2 separate regions of the Homo sapiens genome follow, and region 2 is linked to region 1. The links are contacts of gene promoters, found by promoter capture Hi-C in blood cells and fetal thymus (Javierre and others, 2016). All regions are on one chromosome and are shown on one strand. The core of a region is centred on a gene start or on the middle of the fragment in contact, and the rest is flanking DNA. Distances in the headings are between cores, read along the strand shown. Region 1 holds the start of MIR497HG (mir-497-195 cluster host gene). Region 2 has its middle 18 kb from the start of MIR4520-1.

Region 1 (7,041 bases), core at 2,854-5,353:
TGAGGTTGCCCAGCACGTCGGAGGAGTGGCGAGTGAACTCGCGGACGTAGCCCAGCGCTCCCTCCGGGGCGGCGGGGGAACCCATAGCGACACAGGCCTGTAGAGGCCGTGGAAAGTGCTCTGGATCCAGGCAGTCCTAAGACGCCTTCCCTCCTCTGTTTGCCTTTTCCTTCCGAGGTGCAACTAGAGCCAGGACTTCCAGCCCCTAGCCCCGGCACACGCAGCCTCCCTCCTAATTCTTCTTGTTCATTCTGCCCTCTACGACACCCTCGCTCCCTTGCCTCTTCCAGATCCCACAGCGCTTGGAGCCAGTTGAAGGTTCCACACCGCGGCGTCGTTGGCGAGCGTGGGGAATCCCGCGCCCATCGCCCTGGGTTCGACCCCCAGTGCCCCTCCAGCACCGCCACTCCCCTCTGCGCGCCTGTGTCTCAGGTGTCCAACCCTGCCTCGAGATCTCACGGCCTGCCGTCCACACACCTCCAAATCCCAGCCGAGGCTCCCTTCCCCGAACTACGGAATTCTGCGACTCCTATCTAGTCCCCAATCCCTAGTTTAGCCCAATTTCTGGGACTCAGGCTCGCTGATGGCAAGCTCCACACAAGCTCCTACCCTCTTGGGGGACCCAGGAGTCTGGCTCCCTCAGTCTCTTGTTCTTACCCCCGTCCTGCAGGGGCCGCGGCTTCTCTTCTTAAGGGGGGCGGGGTCTCTCTCCCCTCTTGGCCTCGGCTCCTTTATCTGGCCGGGATGTCGGGGGCGGGGGTGGAGGTGGGGTGAACGCCTGGGTCTGTATCCTTCCTTCCTCCCTCGCTCTCCAGATGGCGAGTCCAGGGCGGGGTCTCCGTCTCGAGGGCGGGACCTCAGAAACAAGGGGTGGTCGTAACGTAGGGGGTCTTGGGTCACTGCAAGTGGACACGAGGACGGGGATATTGGAATTGGGGAGGAGGTTAGGGATATCGAGGTTGGCAATACGGGAGTCTGAGTCGTCGGAAGGCCTGGGCCAGTGAAAATTGGTGTGTTGGCTTTTGGGAGGGTTTGCCAGGAGCCAACCTTTGCTGCAGGACAAAGTGCATACGGCAACCCCCTCTCCCTCTCTTGTACTGTGTTAAGGGAGAAAAGGGGGAGCCCAACGAGACAGCAGGTTTGGGCAGACGACAGTGGGCTCCCGTAGGGTCTCAGACGGGGAGGGTGTGGTGTGAATGACAGGCTACTCTACCCGGGCCTACAAAAAGGGGGGCTCTGGCCGGGCGGGGTACGGAGAGGGCGGATATGATTTCTAGTTGGTTTCCTTCCATTGTCCTGCGACCGGACGGCTCCGCCAGCTGCTTCCCCTCGAGGAGGTGGGGAAAGCCCCGAGGTGGGGGTGGAGGGGCGAGAGACGCTCGGGAGACCTAGGCGTCCGGCCTCTCTCGCTCCCGACTCTCTTCTGGGTCCTTGTAGGGATCCAGAGAGATGGACTCCCGCCCAAAGCCCGCTTGCTTTCCCCCAATCCCAGCTCACGAGGGCCTCGGGCACCCGCCCGTCGGCTACGCTTGGAGGCTGGCGGGACGCCGGGGTCCAGCGCGGCAAGTAGGCAAGGCTCGGCAATGTGCGGCTCCTTCCACGAGGGGGCGGCCGAGCACTGGCCTCGCCTCGCCCCTCGTCTCCACCCGGCCTGGGGTGCGCTCAGACCCGGGCGCAGGATCCATTTGGTCTGGGCGGCTGAAACCTTTAGCCTCCTCCCCTTTGCGCGGGTTTATTTTGCACCTCTGTCTCCTAGGAGGGGACTAGGGCTGGGCGGAGGGAGCTAGAGTTAGGAGACCGAGGGGACTTTCCCCTCAGGCTGGGGTTCCTACCCGAGGTGAGAAATCGCGGGCTTTAGGAGCCAGGGGAATGGGTGGGACAAGAAGCGGGACCTGAGCCTGGGAACTCCGGGTTTTCTTTTCGAATTAAGCTAGACACTGCTACCCAGATGTCTTTGGAGGTGACTTTTAATTGAACATTAAAATTGGGTGGGGTAAACGAGAAGGGAAAACAAGGAGGAGGGAGAGAGGGCAGGAGGGGGCTTAACCACCCTAATTTGAAGTCCCTGATCTGAGAGATGGGCATGGATCACACCCTCATATTTTGTTTCGGGAGACATTGCGGGCAGGCAAGGCAAAGCTCATTTGGAGAAGGGGTGCTAGAGCTGAATCCAGCTGCAAGGCAGAAGCTCCCCGGATTTGGGCTGGGGAGAGTGTACAGTTGGCCAGGAATGGCCGACCATGGTCCACGGGGCTGGATATCAGGCCCGGGGCCCTCCCCTTCAGACCGGAGTGTGTCTTTATTTGAATGCATGAAAGAACAGCTGAGAAACCGGGAACTGGGAAATTCAGGACGATGAGGTGGCTTTGACATGTGAGGGTTATTTAGGTCTCTGCCCAGCTTGGAGATGAGAATTAGACTAGGGGCTCTCCCTTTGGCATCAGGATGGAGTATTATTTGATCAGTTGTGGGGTGTCTGTTTATTATGGGGTGTTGATTTGATTGTGAGCACCGGTGGCTGCATTCAGCCTTTGAGGCCTATATGGTAAGTTTCAGGTATGGGGCTGACTTGGAAGTTACATTAGTTCTGGGGGTTCTGACACCCACAATTTGGAGATTGTGCTCACCTGTGTCATCTTGGACTATCAGCAGAACCAAAGTACTCATGCTGATTTGGGGGTGCAGTCTATTTTGGGGTGCCATCTAAGTTTCAAGGCTCAGATTAGATTTGGGGAATAAGTTCAATTTGGAGTTTTAAAAATTAGTTTGAGGTGGAACATTATAGGAAGCTGGGAGCAAGTTCGAAGCTTTCTGTGATTGGGGGTCCTGGGAGGGGGGAGCAAACTTTTATATTTGAGTCTTGTGGACACTCACGTTCCACAAAGTGGAAAGACGTGGGGTATTCCTGTGTATCCATGGATACCCAAGAAGCTTTTTCCCCAGGGGAGAAACAAGGTGAGGGCCGCGAGGACAGGAGACTAAAGTTCTGGGGTGTTCTTATTTTGGGGGTGTTTTGTCACTCTGGCTGCTTTTGGTGAAGCTAAGGGATAATCATAAGGTGAGACTGATTTGGGAGTTCACTTAATTTGGACCCTGGTTTGGGATGTCTTTTGCTTATAGTGCCCTCTCACCCCAGATTCTAGAAGTTTCTTTAGTGAACCCCCAAATAAGCCCAGGATTTGAAGGGAGAAACTTGGAAAGGGTGTGGTATCTCCTTTTATTATTATGTGGCTTGAGGGAGAAGAGAGGGAGAAAAGGCGGTTTCAGACTCTGAATCCCAATTTCTTAAGGGAGCACCCCTTAGTTTGGGGGAAGTTGGAGAAAAATGGGGTGTCCCTTGGCCAAGTGGGCACCCCTGACCAGGGCAGTGCTGTTGGAACTGTGGCAAGGAGGGGTGCTGGTGGGGTACAAGGAGGTGATTCTTGCACCCTGATTTTCTAGGATGAGCCCCAAACAGAAAGCAGACAGAGGACTGGGAGTGTGGGTGAGATGGCGGGGAGGGGTTCCCCACGGCAGCCGGGGCTACAGGGTAAGCCAGGCCAGCTCTTCGCGCCTGGGTCCCTTCTCTCTTCGGCCCTCCTCCCCTCTCTCCCTCCCACCGCCCACCCCCCCAACCCAAGAAAAAAAACTGCCTGTGCAACAGCAATGGCAGATTCCAATCCTCCAGGCTTTCCTAAACCACCACGGTGACCAGCCAGGGGGGAGGGGAAGGGAGGAACGGGCTTTCCTGCTTCCTTAAGACAGGGGCAATGAGCTTGACCTCCTGGCCCCTAGCCCTTTGAGGAGTGATTCCCCCCGGTCTGGAAGCCAGGTGTCCTGGACCCTAGCCCCCGAGCGGTGGGGGGGGCCTGGAGAGACGGGGAGGAGGAAGGAGGGAGTGACTTCCAAAATTGGCATCGGGACAGAGCAGGGCTGGCGGGAGGCAGGCAAAAGACGGAATTTTCCTGAAAAAACGGGGGTATCTGAGGACCCCAAATTTGGGGAGCTAGTCCAGGACCGTCCTCCCAACATCCTAGATTTTTTTGGGATTTTTTGGGGACCCCGGGACCCCTCTAGATGGGGTGAGGAATGTAGTGTTGGGTGAATCTGACTGGGGCATTGCAGCTGCCTCTCCCGCCGAGTTGGAGACGGATGGGCTGGGACGGGTTTTGGGGGGGTGTCCCCAATTCTGACTGGGAGTGGAGGAACCCCTCCTGAGATCTCTTGTGGGGGTGCCCCCTCCCCAGGGCACTCCCCAGTCCCTGAGCCAGCCGAGAGGAAGGAGGCCAGCGATGCGACTGGGGCGGCTCCTTTCTCCTGCACCCCAAATGTGAGGGATGCACCCTAAATTTTGCTCTTTTCAAAATAGGGGACCAGGATCTCAGGGGAGAGTAGCTGAGGTAAGTGGGGAGGGAAGTGTCCTCTGTTTTCAGGAGAGACGTGGCGGTTGGGGGGGAGGTTTGGAGGTGCGTGCTGGGGTGGGGTTGGCTTTGTCAGTCTTGGAATTGGGGGGATGATTGGAGAGGCTTTCTCTTATACCCCTAAACTGCAGCCCCCCAGACGGAAACCAAAGGCTGAGACCAGAGAGCCCCCCAACATCCCCAGCCGTTAGGATAGTGTTTAATTTCTCTTTCACCCCCCACAAAGGCTCTGCCGAGGTAGGAGCTGGGGGCAACTGTTAGTTTGGGGGCTATGGAGGGTGGTGGAGGAGCAGGAGGCCTTGGCAAGATTTGATGGAGGGCAGATAGGGGTGTCCGGGAGGGGTCTGGCATCTTCGGGGGCCTAAAAAGACTGCTTACATACACCACCTTGGATCTTTCAGATTGCTAAGAGTTTTGGGGGGTGTGTCGGAAGAGGGGGTGGTAAAAGATGCGATGGGATATAGGAAGATAACTTCTGGATTTTAGGGGGTCATATTTTGATTTGCAAAAGGAGTTTTGGCCCTTGGATTTTGCTTTCTGAGGGGTGTTTTTAAAAAATCAAGTCCTGGACAGGAGAAAAGGGCTGAGGGAAGGCCTGGAGTTGGGGGTGGGGAGAGGCATGTTTGTCTCAGCTTAAACGTGGCTCTCTGGGGTGGGCCCGCCTGCCCTGGCCTGGTGGATGGGCTGATGGAGGTTGCTGTGGGGGCCGGCTCGGGTCCTCAGGGGCCCTGGGGAGTGGGAACAGCACTGGGGGTTGAATACCTGGCCCCCCAGGTCCAGATGGCCCTCTTCCTGGGCTCTGCTGCTCCCCTTCCCCCTGGTCTCCATTTCCTGCCTTTGGCCTCCATCTTGTGGCAGGCCCAGGGCCCAGGGCGACTTCCGGCCCCCCTCTCCCAACCATGTTCCGGCCCCACCACCTCTGGACTGCCAACTCCCAACCCTGCTGGCCTTGGCCCTCTGTCTCTCCTTGCTTTTCTCTTGGGTTCTGACCCAGGGAGAGGAAGGACGGACACAGGAAGCCTTGGGTCCCTGCCCTTGCTGAGACAGGAGGCAGTGTGTTGGCCCCTCCAGTCATTCCCTATTTCTTCTGCCTCTGACCCCACCCTAGGGATCCCCTGAGCTGAGTTCCTACAGAGGGAAGATGGTCCAATCTTACTACACTGTGAGCTCATCCCCATGGTCCGTCGCCTTCCAGTTGCCTGCTCAGCCCGTCCCTGGTTCCTCCCAAACGTTTTTGGGGGCCATGTTTGCCTTTTAAGGCTTCTCTATCCCCCCGCTCCTGGAGGTGGTGCTGGGGTCTTCCCAGCACTGCTATGTGCTCTCTTCCTTTCAACCCACCCCGGTCCTGCTCCCGCCCCAGCAGCACACTGTGGTTTGTACGGCACTGTGGCCACGTCCAAACCACACTGTGGTGTTAGAGCGAGGGTGGGGGAGGCACCGCCGAGGCTTGGCCCTGGGAGGCCATCCTGGAGAAGTGACACAAAAAACATCTGGGGCCTTGTGACAAACTTCTTGCCAGGTGGGCAAGGAGAGGGTGGGGTATGTAAGCACCCCTCTAAAATCTCCAGGGCAGTTTCAAGAATACTGATGGCCAGAGACCCTGGGAGTAAGTTCTGCCTCAAGAGAACAAAGTGGAGTCTTTGTTGCCCACACCCAGCTTCCCTGGCTCTAGCAGCACAGAAATATTGGCACAGGGAAGCGAGTCTGCCAATATTGGCTGTGCTGCTCCAGGCAGGGTGGTGAAAACTACCGAGGAGGGGCTGAGCCCCCATGGGCCGAGGAGAGAAGAGGGAACAGGCCTCTCCTGCTAATAATGTTAAGCAGACAGCACGAAGCTGAGAGGGAAATCTTTATTGTTTTCTGTATAAAAATGTCCATCAGATGAAGGTCAAAGGGGTTGGGGGCAGATGCTTATGCGGGAATAGCGAGGTGGCAGCCCCAGCAGCCTTTCAGCCCTCTCTCGTGCAGGCCTTGCTCGGAGTCCCAGGAGATCCACAGGTCCGGCATGAACAGTGAGAGGTCAGAGGTGGAAGGCTCAGCAGGAGAGGAGAGGAGGATCAGCAGAGGTCATGAGAAGGCCAGAATCCAGGGTCAGGCTGTCTGGAACAGGAAGTAAAATGGGCCGAGATGGAGCGAGCCCCCAGTGTGCTTCCAAGGCCACTCCCACCTCCCTGAAACACCCTGCTACGTACTGATCCAATGCCCTGCGCTGTGTATGAGAGCACCTTCTCTTCTGAAACCCCTATACAAGGGAGGGGCCCCTGCGGAGACCGTGCCCTGCCATCCAGGTGAGCCCTTTCTCCCCAACCCCGTCAGCTGTGTGGGAGGAGGAGGACTCCTACCCTGGTCGAAGTTGAGTTTCTTAGCTGGAGGAGTTTCTCCTAGCCCTTCAATATCCACCACGTCACTGTTGGCATCGGAGTCGTTCAGAGCACTGAGTGTCACATCTGGGAAGGGGGCATAAGCTAGGTTCTAGGTTCCCCTGACAGCCTCTCCCCCAGCCCCAAGCTTCCCAAAGCTTTGTGCCTCCTCTCCCCTCCCCTCTGCCCCTCTCTGGGAACCTCCACAGGGACAGGAAGAGAGACTGACCCTTCTTTGACCCAGGCCCAATTCTCTCACTAAACCTCAGATGGGACCTTTA
Region 2 (7,041 bases), core at 1,936-4,435, 350 kb after region 1:
CCCCCTTTGGCTGCTGAGGACTCTGAGGCTTGCAGGGGTTTGTCTAAATGGAGGAGCAGGACCAGGACTGGAACCCTGATTCCAAAGCCTCTGCTCTTTGCATTGCGCCATGGGGCACCTGTGCATGATCCGAGCTAAGGAGTGGGACCCTGCTGGCTTGACAGAGGCCTGGGAGAAGCAGGGCTTAGCTCCTTCTGTGCACCAGCCATCCATCTTCTGTGCTTTGGATCAGGTAAGGGACAGATCCTGCGACAGACTGACTCCCGGCCTGCCCCCTCTCCTCTCACAGAGCCCTGGCTCTGGCCTCCTTCTCACTAACTCCAGCGTCAGGGAGGGAGGGAAGGGGCCAGTCTGAGACAGGCCCCTGTGATGTCTGGAAGCTCAAACCCTGCAATCGAGGGAAACCCCAGAGAGCAAACAGGGGAGAGGAGGTGGGGCAGGTAGGGCTGTGATTACCGGGTGGGGTGTAGAAGGAACTGGTGCAAGGACAGGACCCACCTTGGGGAGGTGAGATGGGAGGGCTGTTACCTAAAAACAGACCTGATTTTCATATAAATAGAACACCTATTCACTGTGTTTCTTTTTTTAAAGTTAGGATTTCAGTGTTTTCTTCCTTAGCAAACATCCCTGGCATTTCAGCCTGGGGTGGTTTCAGCCCAATAACATGGGCACTTGGCTGGTTCAGGTCATGATGCCCTTAATCCGGGGCTGAAGCAGTGTGCAGTATGTGTGTGCGTGTGCGTGTGTGTGTGTGCAACTGCAAAGAGCAATTCAGTTCTACATTTACTGACCCTTGGTTGACGCTTCTTCTGTGCTGAGAGATGGGGTCACAGAGAAGAATCAAGCTCTGTCCCTGTCCTCAAGGATACAGCCTAGTAAATGGGGTTAGCTTGGTCTGTGTGAATCAGCAAAGTCTTCATCGGATCTATTCTAGGCAGAGTTTTAAAGACAAATGGGAGTTTTCTAGATTCTTGTTTTTTTCTTGCGCAAACAGTTACTGAGCACCTACTACATGCTATGCATAAAACTAGCAACAGAGAGACAGGACACAGGTCCTCCCTTGAGAAGTCTAGCCGGAGACAGTGATAAGAATAGTAACAGCACAATGTCTTGAGGGTTAAAACAGAAGCATGTGTAAGATGCACCATTGGCTGGAAGAGGGAACCATCCACGTGGGGACGTGAGAACAAGGCCCTGTGCAGGGAGTGGGCTCGTCCTCTGGTGTGGCTGAGGCAAGGGAGCAGTGCAATGTGCACCAGGAGAAGAGGGGGGCTGGGAGACAGGCACTGGGCCTGAGCTTCCTTAGGCCTAAGGGCTCAGCAAGTTGCCCAAGAACATGGGACCACCAAGGAATTGCTGAGGCACAGCCAGGAGCAGGCCTGGCGGTCTCGGGCCAGTTGCCTGTGGATGCGCTGTGTGGTCCAGGGATGTTAGGACAACTCAGTCCCAGCTCTGACCTCCTCACTTATGACCTGAGTGGCCTCGGTCATGCCACCTCTCTGAGCTCCATCTGTTCATGTCTCAACTGGAAATTGTGATAACACTAACCACACCCCCTTGGCAGAGTGACGGGAGGAGTAAATGAGATGGTGCATGAAGGGCCTGGATAGAGCAGGTCCTGAAGCGCCTGGATGAAAGGATGCTGTTCTGCCTCCCCCGCAAGGCTATGGGGAGGTGGGACTGGGCCTGGGAGGGCCGTGTGGAGAAAGGGCAGTTGGCCCTCCTGACTCCTGCTGGTAACCCAGGTCCACGAGCAGGGAGCCAGTCCCACTCTGGCTCTGTCTAGGGTGCCATTGTGGGGCTGAGGGGTGGTGCTCACACTGGAAGAAAAGCTTAGTTGGCCTAGGCCTGGTTAGCCAGGCTGTCCATGGAAGCCTGGCCCCTTCACACTCCTTGGATGTTTTTCTTCTTCTTCTTCTTCTCTGAATTTAGGCCCCTTTGGGCAATAGCAGCCTGTCTGTGACAAGTGTGCCGGACAACCAGGGCTTGGCCCATCTGACCCTGGGACCCTGGTCAGGTCCAGGGTAGAGCAGCATTTGGGAATCTTCGAGGGTGCAGATGCTCTGGGATAGACCTGCCCAAGGTCTGGTCCAAGGACGGTGCTCACCTCTGCTTCCAGGCCCCTGGCTCAGCCCCGAGGCCCAGGGCTCAGGTCGGGCAAAGCGGTAGCATCTCAACTGCTCCCACACCATCCGTGGTCTTCCCGAAACCCTGGTGCTGACTTGGCCTTCGTGGAGGCTGCCCCGGGAGGGGCTCCAACAAGACGGGCCTTGAGAAAGGCCCGTTACCTGCCAGTGCTCGGCCTCCAAAATAGAATTTGAAGGGAGCAAAGCCTTTAATTCCATGTGTCCCAACAGCAGGTCGGTGTGGGGATAACTATGATCTGACTGGTCTTGAGTTATAATTACGGAGTCAGAATGAAAAATTACAGGCATTGTGTGGGCTTGTTTTAAATATAACGTAATCCATACCGTCCTCTCTCTTATTTGCTAGATTTGAGGTGGAGGCTTTGGCAGTTGGCGCAGGTTTTGCCTGACGTGTAGCAGATAAAAATGGCCTTTGCTCAGTGAAGAGGGCATGGTGGGAGGCCTCTGAGACCCTCAGCATTCCCAACTGCCCACTTCCCACAACCATAGGCACGTGTGCTTCCGTGCGAGCCCTGTTTGTCAATCGCATTATCTGTATGTTGCGTTTCCCAGCTGACCTCCCTATTTCCTGTCTCCCTCAAGCCAGTCCACCAGAAACATCTCTGTAAAACCCAGCTTTGATGCTTAAGGACCCATCAAGGGCCTCTCTCTGTCTATAGGGTAAATCCAAACTCCAAGTTTCTTTATGACTTGGTTCCAATCCACATTCCAGCATCACAGCTGGGAACAGGAGCTGTGGCATGGAGGTGACATGAAGTACAAGGGCCCTGGGGCCCAACGGCACAGGCTCCAACTCGGGCTCCAACTCTTAGTAACCGAATGTGAGTCCAGGCAGGTTCCTTTTTCTTTTTCTTTTTGAGACAGAGTTTCGCTCTTCTTGCCCAGGCTGGAGTGCAATGGCGCGATCTCAGCTCACTGCAACCTCCACCTCCTGGGTTCAAGCAATTCTCCTGCAATTCTCCTGCCTCAGCCTCCTGAGTAGCTAGAATTACAGGTGCACACCACCATGCCTGGCTAATTTTTCTATTTTTAGTACAGACGGGGTTTCACCATGTTGGCCAGGCTGGTCTCGAACTCCTGACCTCAGGTGATCCACCTGCCTCGGCCTCCCAAAGTGCTGGGATTACAGGCGTGAGCCACTGTGCCCGGCCAGGCAAGTTCCTTAACCTTAATCTGCGTGCTTTAGCTCCTCCACTTCTTGCTATTTATATGGGGTTGCTGTGAAGACAGAATGAAATAACACACTCCTAGAACCACCCTCGTCATGTCCCTTTTCCTCTCCAAGACTTAGCTGACCGATCACTGAAAGGAGGCAACAGAAATACTGTCTTTCGAGTTAGTCGATGTTTCTTTGAATGATATTTCTTGGTGTAGTTGATGGTGTGTGGCGAGATGGGCATGTGTTAGTTCAACCTTTCTCAAAAGTAAAATAAAAATACACATGCGAAATCTTAAAACATGCCTATACCCTATGAGTAGGAATCTAAGCTAAGGGAAAAATGAAATTGTGGACAAAAATTTATGCATAAAGATGCTTACTTTAGTATTTTTTGTTTTGTTTTTGAGACGGAGTCTCACTCTGTCTCCCAAGCTGGAGTGCAGTGGGGCGATCTTGGCTCACTGCAACCTCTGCCTCCTGGGCTCAAGTGATCCTCCCACCTCAGCCTCCCCCACTCCAGTCCCCAGGTAGCTGGGACTACAGGCGTCAGCCACCACACCCAGTATTTTTTTTTTTTGAGATGGAGTCTCACTCTGTCCCCCAGGCTGTGGTGTGCAGTGGCGTGATCTCAGCCCACTGCAACCCCTCCACCCCTCCCAGTTCAAGCAATTCTCCTGCCTCAGCCTCCTGAGTTGCTGGGATTACAGGCACCTGCCACCATGCCCAGCTAATTTTTGTATTTTCAGTAGAGACGGGGTTTCACCGTGTTGGCCAGGCTGATCTGAAACTCCTGACCTCAAGTGATCTGCCCACCTTGGCCTCCCAAAATGCTGGGATTACAGGTGTAAGCCATGACGCCTGTCCCAAGATGTTTACTTTGGTATATTTTTATATCCTTGAAAAACTGAAAACATACATGCCTGACATTTAGGTAATATTAGTTAAGGTGTGTCAGCTCAAAAGACTATTATGCAGTCATTAACAGTGTTTTTAAAGAATATTTCGTTATATTGAAAATGCATATAATCGGAGGTAAATAAATCACGTATAATGTATGGTCGTAGTGATAATAAAAATATGCGAGCACAGAAAAGGTTGATATTGAAATAGAATAGCAGTTATCTTTGATGAACGGATAGAAGGATTAATATTTTCTCCTTTATAGTTTTCTGTATTTTCCAAATATCCTAGAAACAGGCATGCATTATTTGTATAATTTTTTAAAAGCTTAACGTTAAAATGTTAAATAAAATGAGAGGGTAGGGCCGGGCGTGGTGGCTCATGCCTGTAATCCCAGCACTTTAGGAGGCCGAGGCAGGTGGATCATGAGGTCAGGAGTTTGAGATCAGCCTGGCCAACATGGTGAAATCCCATCTCCACTAAAACATACAAAAATTAGCCGGGCATGGTGGTGCACGCCTGTAGTCCCAGCTACTCGGGCAGCTGAGGCAGAAGAATCGCTGGAACCCGGAAGGTGGAGGTTGCAGTGAGCCGAGATCACGCCACTGCACTCCAGCCTGGGCGACACAGAGAGACTCCGTCTCAAAAAAAAAAAAAAAAAAAAAAAAGAGAGAGAACTTGATGTCAGAGTTCCCTTCTGGCTGGTATCAATCTACGATTCTAATAGGCTGGGACCACCCACAGGGCCTGAGAGGTGACTGCAGAGAGCCCTCAAGACCTGCCTCAAAGACAAGCAGCCACAGGGCAGGTCCAGAGCCCGGAGTCAGCAACTCACTGATCATGAGGATTCGCCAAGTACATCCACACAGCCTTCCCTTGAAGCCAGCTGCCTCTCTAGAGTCTTTCTGAAACTTTCCCAAGTGTTGAAGACTCTTCCACGCCATTGAAAGTGGGCAGGGTGACAGCCCCACTCTGACCCTGCTAAACCATGGGGCCTCGGTGGCCCCCCGTCCACCTGGTGCCAAGTGGGGTTTGGCCTGAGAGGTGAGCTCTTTCTGCCACTTCAGGTAAGGGGCTCGTTGGAGAAGGTAGGCAGGCGGCGCCATTGTCACCTCTGTGGACCTGTCTACTGTCCACACATCTGGACTTTGGGGACACCACTTTCTGGCTCTTTCAGACCACACACCCCCAACGGCCAGGACACACAACACTGTCTGGTGAGTTGTCCTGAGGGTGGGGCTTCTGGAACACTTCCTAAGAGGGAGTCACTGAGGGACAGCCTGCTCACTCCCAGCTACTTCTGGGATCTCAGAATCACTGGATCCAATCGAGCAGGTCAGCCCAGCTGAGGCTACCTGGAGAAATGAAAGGGGCCTTTGGTGAGGCCCTGGTGGAAGGAAGGGCAGGGCACCATGTGAGTTCACAAAGGGAGCTCCCCGGGGAGGGAGCCCTTGGAGGCAGGAGCCTGGAGCCCTGTGCCCAGAACCCTGCGCCCCGCCTCTAGACTGCAGCTTGTCAGGGCTTGGCTAGGACCTCCATGAACCAGCTCCACACCTGGCCAGTTAGGAACCAGAGAAACTCAGAGGAATCAGAGGCTAAGACACTGAGACAGACAGGCTTAGAGGGACAGTAAGAACAGCAGTCGGCGGGAGGCAGGCAGAGGTGTGGGGAGACACAGGCTGAGAAACAGACAGTGCCTGAGACAGGGCGGAGAGGCCCCCACTAGGCAGACTGTGCACATCAGCACCTCCAAACAGGCTCACCCTCACGATCACCAGGGAACGCAAATTAAAGTCCCCCTGATGTGCCATTCATTTCACACCTATGAAATTAGCAAACATTAACAAAATTATAATGTCTCATGCTGTTGAAGCTGTGCTGAAACCAGCTTACACACACTGCCAGTGGCAGTGTAAATTAACACCACCTTTTTAGGGGAGAAATTGGGCAATACGCTTCCAGAGCTATAAAAATGTTCATACCTTTTAATGTGGTAATTCTGCTCCTGGGAATGTGTTGTAAGGAAGTCATTCAACAGAACCATGAAAGACGTGTATCTAAAGACCATGAGGGCAGTGCTCTCCGCTATATCCCGGGGGCTCTAGTATGGCCGCCATGAATATTTTTTAAAATAGGGAATATTAAGACTATAGGCTGGGCGCGGTGGCTTGAGCCTGTAATCCTGGCACTTTGGGAGGCCGAGGTGGGTGGATCACCTGAAGTCAAGGGTTCGAGACCAACCTGGCCAACATGGCAAAACCCCGTCTCTACTAAAAATACAAAAATTAGCCAGATGTGGTGGCAGGCACCTGTAATCCCAGCTACTCAGGAGGCTGAGGCAGGAGAATTGCTTGAACCCGGGAGGTGGAGGTTGCAGTGAGCTGAGATTGCGTCACTGCACTCCAGCCTGGGTGACAAAGACTCTGTCTCAAAAAAAAAAAAAAAAAAAAAGACTATATAGTATAACATTTAAGGGTTCTTAGAATATGTGAAAATGAGCAGAAAATAAAACCATCTGTACATTAAAATTAATAATTCCATAAAACAGCTGCCTGAAAGCTCAGGGCAGCCCCACCCTTGCTGGTGGAGGGTGAATGGTTCTTGATTCCCGGCTGGCCATACAGACACTCCTGTCTTCCCACTGAGGGGCCTGCCCTGCCGCTCCCTGTCTGGAAGCCTAATCTGCAGACCTCAGACCGGTGGGGAGACAGGCTCAGCAAAGCCTGCCCACCTGGCCAGCTCATGGGAGTGGCCCTGGGGAGTCTGAATGGTGCTCACTGAGTCACATCCGCTGAGGTGTGTCTCTGATGTCACACCTACAGAGGCCAAACCAGA

What was found. Contacts are between HindIII fragments. The CHiCAGO score rates a contact against its expected background, and 5 or more counts as called.
Region 2: a contact is called between a fragment that was not itself captured here and the fragment with the promoter of MIR497HG in region 1, in 3 of 17 cell types (megakaryocytes, erythroblasts and neutrophils). The highest score is 11.0, in megakaryocytes.

What each region holds. Positions count from the first base shown.
Region 1 is chr17:7,016,716-7,023,756 of GRCh38, reverse strand. MIR497HG (mir-497-195 cluster host gene) reads left to right here and starts at 4,103. Exons shown (of 3, transcript NR_038310.1): 1 at 4,103-4,379; 2 at 6,369-6,688. It overlaps BACC1 (BPTF associated chromatin complex component 1), which reads right to left. Exons shown (of 6, transcript NM_174893.4): 5 at 6,743-6,847; 6 at 6,237-6,496. The coding sequence ends at 6,492. BCL6B (BCL6B transcription repressor) reads right to left here and starts at 707. Exons shown (of 9, transcript NM_181844.4): 1 at 658-707; 2 at 1-97. The coding sequence starts at 85. RNASEK-C17orf49 (RNASEK-C17orf49 readthrough) reads right to left here. Exons shown (of 8, transcript NR_037717.1): 7 at 6,743-6,847; 8 at 6,233-6,496. It also overlaps MIR195 and MIR497. RefSeq lists a silencer at 1,614-1,753 and enhancers at 5,029-5,198, 6,550-7,041. The HindIII fragment of the contact is 3,977 bases long and covers 2,934-6,910 here.
Region 2 is chr17:6,669,906-6,676,946 of GRCh38, reverse strand. No RefSeq gene overlaps it. Among named protein-coding and RNA genes, the nearest start is that of MIR4520-1, 18 kb to the right of the region's middle. RefSeq lists an enhancer at 1-197 and a silencer at 6,602-6,756. The HindIII fragment of the contact is 2,701 bases long and covers 1,835-4,535 here.